2 separate regions of the Homo sapiens genome follow, and region 1 is linked to region 2. Evidence: promoter capture Hi-C in 16 types of primary human blood cells and fetal thymus (Javierre and others, 2016). All regions are on one chromosome and are shown on one strand. Each heading gives the region's core, a stretch centred on a gene start or on the middle of the fragment in contact. The rest is flanking DNA. Distances are from core to core; before and after follow the strand shown. Region 1 overlaps LRRK2 (leucine rich repeat kinase 2). Region 2 holds the start of TWF1 (twinfilin actin binding protein 1).

Region 1 (2,700 bases), core at 134-2,633, 3.5 Mb before region 2:
ATTATTCTTAACTGTTACTTAACTATGACAAAACAACTTAGAACGCTTTGCTAATACACAAGATAGTATAAGGATAAAAATTCTTTATAGTACTAGCTCATAAAGAGTGTTCTATGGAATAGTAGTGGATGTCATTTAATAACTATAAATTCAAAATAAGCATTGTAAATATCAATACCATTCAATTTTTTTTTGTTTTTTAAACAAGTTGTAAGCCTACCCTATGGTAAATGGATATGGTAACACAGCATAATTTCCTCAAAAAATTACTTTTGTGATATACTTTTAAAGGATTATATGAATATATACATAATTATAGATGAATGTGATGCTGTGTGTCATTGTATCACCAAATCTCTGTCCAATCTGTTAACAGACTCTTAAATAAACCATTTTTCTCAAGTTGTTACTGGCCTGTATACTGTATTACTTGTTTTTCAGCTTTCCTTGGTACATTCTTAAATTTCTGCATTCCGCCACCATGCTATCACCCTAATGGATCAACCTTTTTTGTTTTGCTCCATTCTCTCTGTTGTAAATCTGAAATTGATAATTTGTTTGTCTCAGAAAATATTATTTTTCAAGTTCTAGCGTATTGCCTACAAAAACCAAAAGAATTAAGTGTCTGACACTGTGAGGTTCAGCAAAACTGTGCATATATTTTGCTACCTGATTTTTTGCCAGCAAATGAGTGTTTTCTATTATAAATATAGTATATATTGCTTAAAAATTTGGAACAGAAAAGAAATTACTCCAATTAGGATGCCACCTAAAGTATAAGCATGTAGCTGTACTTTGAGAACACTAAATTGCATGCAGGTTTGTAGTGACTAGGTCTTCTTGCCTTTACTGAAGGAGCAGAATGAAGTCACAGATAATGGATAACCAAATCCATTTTGTGGTAAGAACTTCCTTACTTTCAATGTCTTGAAGAGATGAAGTATGTTACCAAAGGAGATTGGGTTTTTTAATATTACAGATGAGTGACATAGATTGTTTGGGAGTAAGTTTTTATATGTAAGTTTTTATGTTTTTAAACACATACTGACAACTTATGACAAACCTTTGGAAAGTTTTAAAACTCTGTTGAAAGGTTGTGCAAGCTGCTGATGGAATCTGTGAGCCTTTCTTGTTTCTTATCACGTTTTTTGGCAGAGCACATTTCTTCCTTCCCACCAACAGGTTTTGCCCTTTTTTTTCCCATTAAGATTCCTCCTGAGATTGGCTGTCTTGAAAATCTGACATCTCTGGATGTCAGTTACAACTTGGAACTAAGATCCTTTCCCAATGAAATGGGGAAATTAAGCAAAATATGGGATCTTCCTTTGGATGAACTGCATCTTAACTTTGATTTTAAACATATAGGATGTAAAGCCAAAGACATCATAAGGTTAGATAATTTTTTTCTATTTGGTTTTACTAAATTTATTTCAGATTTTCTACTCTCTGTGACTTTGATGGACATATATTGTTACTATTTAGGGAAAAATAAATAGTAATATTTGGCATTAATATGCTGTGTGTCATTTGCCTTTCATTTAATGAATGTGTTTCTGTGGTGCCACTGTAGAGATTTCTCATTCTTCTTAGCCAGACTAATGTTGAGAGCGGCTTCTCCTCCTTCTGTTTCTTTTCAGTGGAGTAGACTCTAAAAGAAAATAAGTATTGCTATTTGGTCTCTGGTTACCAATTACACAATCTAAAGAAATACAGCACAGTATAATAACTTCTCACACTGTATTTCATATAGCAACTAGTTAACATATGCCTCTTACATCTTAAAGCATTATAGCTACTGACATCATGTGAAATTACTAACTTCTATTTTGCCCATTAGGATGAGTAATCTACTCACCTTGATCAGTTTTGAAAGCACCAAAACTTCTCAAGTATCACTGTTTCTGGTCTTTACACTTTAAGCACTTTAAATATCTTTGGTAATGGATTTTATCCTCCTTTTTGTTCCCTTTCAGCACATCGGTCTTATTACTTTCTCATAAAATCCTTTGCTCCCTTTTCCACAGTTACTGTATTAACGTTGCAGACCTCAGCTCTGTCATCACCTCTCAACTTGACTGTAATATCCACCAAGGCAGAGACCATGGCTGTGTTCACTCACTATTCAAATCTTGGCACCCAACACAGTGCCTGGCATACAATTAATAGTTGTTTAATTACCAGTGATTTATACTTACTCATTCTCTTCTGCCTAAAATCTCTTAAATTTATATTTAACTTCATCTGTTTTTATGAGGAAGGATTTTGTTTTCTGAACTCCTGAGCTTGATTTCATTTTAAAGGAGTTTGTTATCTTTTGTGCTAATTGTGGCTACCCTTCATCCTACCCAATTATTTTTCTCTCTTGAAACTGGAAAAGATGGTCATATAAAAATTGGTTCAGTTCTTACTAAACATTTAGTAGAACTAGCTTTCAGTGTATTATACTGTATTATCTAACTAAATATTTTTAATATTTAATATTTAATTTAATATATAACTAAATATTTTTAAACATGTTTAACATTTTCAGAAAAGACAGAAAGACCTAGAGCAGATTAGAAATTGTAGGCATCATTTGCTTTTTGAAGAAAGACATTTTTTCAAATAGTGGTGCATTCTTAAGAAATAAATCAAGAAAGGTAATGTTGCTTTTTGGTCATATCATCAGGAATGTTGGTCAGATTCTTATTAGTTACAGGA
Region 2 (2,700 bases), core at 134-2,633:
ATTCAGTTTCAAGCTTATGACAGACACTCCTTCATCAATTCACTTTCTGTATTTTCCCGTTAAAAACAACAGTATATATCAAATATCCTAACTTGTTTAAAGAAAAAGACAATAAAATGCATTCAGTCTTAACTCTGGTTATATTTTTCTAACTTGCATTTCTCAAAAGCTAGATTAAACTCATTGAATAAATATGTATTTAATAACTAACCCTTGTGTTCCTATTAAAGCTTCAATTTCGTTCTAATTTCGTTCCTGTGTTGTCTATTAGCAGCAAGAACCACTATGTAAGTAGGTAGTGCTTGCTATAAGGCTCAAGCATGAGAGTCAATAACTACATATTTATATATCGAAATTAATGCGGATAAATAAAACAAAGTTTTCAGATTTGAGACTATTTTGCTTCTGCGTGCGTGCAGGGGGATGTGTGCGGTGGTGTCAAAAATCTTTACGAATAAAACATACAATTAAGTGTTCATCTGGGAGAAAGACTCGCTATTAACAGTAAGAGCTTGAGTTTACACTAGAACTCGTTAAGTGATCGCGAGTAACCCGGGGATATATTATTTGACTCTTGATGAGGTGAGTACCTGCAGGCTGCCCAATTTCAAACCAGGAAATAATGGAGGTCAGATATAACTGCATATTGAACTGTCTGCACGCATTACATGCAACCATACAGATCAGTTTCCCTTGGGGAGTATCTAGGAAAAAGATCAAAACACACGCTTACACTCGAGATTTCTCAGAACATAACTCTCATTTTCCTATTTGGAGAGAAAATGCGGGAGAGTTTTGGGAAGCACCCCTACTGATGTGAGAAAGATTCTGGCATGGTTCTTTTTGTAATCAAAGTCCTGTAATATTCTCCTTTGGACCATGAAAAAGAAAACTCGCCTGGTTCTCGACAGCGTACTGAAGCCCCAGTCGCCTCCACTGTCCCAGCTCTTCCCTACGTGACCAAAAGGGGGAAAGTTGGGCGACTGTCGGGGACGGTGGAAGGCACGCCCCCTTCAACCAGGCCGCCTCGAAAGCCAATTTCCTTCGCTCCCCCGAATTTCGGATCAATCTGCAACGTGACGGCAGCAGGGACCGGGCTGGAGGAGGACGCAGGCCGGCAGCGCCCGGGAAGCAGGAGCGCGGAGAGGCGCCGAGGCCCGGCTCGCCCCGCGAGACCGACTTCCGGAGCTCCCGGCCCGACTCCAGCCCTGCCGGTCCTGCAGCCCTCCCGGCTCTCCCGGCTCTCCCGGAAGCCCCTTCCCTGCGAGTCGCGCCGGGCGCTGTTACCTTGGATGCCGGTCTGGTGGGACATGGCGGCGGCCGCTAGCTCCCGGCTCCGGCGCTGAGTGCAGCCAGCGGCCCCGGCCGGCGGCCCCAGGAAGTGGCTGCTCCTCCGCCGGCCCCGGCGCGTCATCCGCCCGCGACCCGCGGCCGCCCCGCCCCGTGAGGTTGACTGAGTGCCCGAGCGTCCCCGCCGCCCCGCCGCCCTTCCTGGCCGCCGGGCTGCGGTCCAGCCCCCGGCCTCGCTATCCTAGTTCTCTGCTTGGGGTCCTGCTTCTGCTCTTGCCGCCGCCTCTCCCGCTTCTTCCGGGGGGGACATGCCGCAGAATCTAGACTGCTCAGTGCTCCGACGTCTGCTCTCTGACAACCCCGCCGACGCCGCCATTCGCTGCCTCAGCAAAGGGGTGCTCAAAAACGGAAGTGATCATTTTACCAAATAGGCATTTTCCAGCTTAAAAAAGATGTGCACATTATTTTTCTTGGTTTACTCTTCCTATAATCGATACCGTTTAGTGTAGAAAAGCCTTCTCCTTGCTCCATTGTTTTGAAAGAATTAATATAGACTGCCTCTCATCAAATTTTTCCACGATTTTAAATTAAGTTAATCTCAGACTGTTAACTTTTCTTTTCAGCTGGACACATTTAGAGACTCAGTGTATCTTTCTCTTCACTCCGGAAAGAGACAGCCACTAAGAGATTAGCTGATTTGAGTATCCCTCTGTGGTCGATTATACCATTGCAAATCCTGCTCTGCTTTAGGTTGGCAGTTTATTATTTAATCCAGTAATTATTCAAAATTCACTTGGACAGATTTGTAAGGTAGCAGCAGATATTACTTAAAAATCTTTTCCTTTCCTGCTTTTACAAACATGTAGTTCCTTCCTGAAAGGTAATGTTAGTTTTGTGGGGGGTTTGGTTTTTTTTTGGTACTGCTTCTCTACTGCTACTAGGTGGGAAGCTAGTTCTTATTTTTAGGGCCTTGAAGTGACACATACACAAAATTATAATCTGCTAATGAAGAAATAATTTATTCAGGTCAATAATATAAGTGCAAGTTAATCACTGTTCCAGTACTATACGATGTATTTTTCATGAGTGATGAACAGGCCTGCAATTGTTTTTCTTTACAAGAATCACAGCAAACAAGGTTATGTTCTATTGCCTGTTATCTGAGCTCTGTTTTTCAGACATATTCTCATATTCAGGAATAAACTAAATCTGAGTTTTATGACTTGTATGGATTTAAGAAATGTAGGGAGGAGTTTCATTCTAATCAAATTCTTCCTGACACAATGGTTCACCCTGATTTACCAGTTTTTGACTACATTGCTGAGCAGAGAGAAAATTGCAGAGTTGACTTGCAGTATTTTGACTGATTCATGTCCTAGTGCTTCGGGGAAATTGCTTAAGGAAGTTGGC

The links. The method cuts DNA at HindIII sites, captures the fragments that hold promoters and counts their contacts. A CHiCAGO score of 5 or more calls a contact.
Region 1: a fragment that was not itself captured here is called in contact with the fragment with the promoter of TWF1 in region 2 in 1 of 17 cell types (monocytes); the score reaches 8.7 in monocytes.

Annotation. Positions count from the first base shown.
Region 1 is chr12:40,304,577-40,307,276 of GRCh38, forward strand. It overlaps LRRK2 (leucine rich repeat kinase 2), which reads left to right. Exons shown (of 51, transcript NM_198578.4): 28 at 1,209-1,390. Among named protein-coding and RNA genes, the nearest start is that of LRRK2, 81 kb to the left of the region's middle. The HindIII fragment of the contact is 3,436 bases long and covers 1-2,700 here.
Region 2 is chr12:43,804,934-43,807,633 of GRCh38, forward strand. TWF1 (twinfilin actin binding protein 1) reads right to left here and starts at 1,384. Exons shown (of 9, transcript NM_002822.5): 1 at 1,288-1,384. The coding sequence starts at 1,312. It also overlaps a transcript of TMEM117 not described here. RefSeq lists a silencer at 1,080-1,559. The HindIII fragment of the contact is 5,668 bases long and covers 229-2,700 here.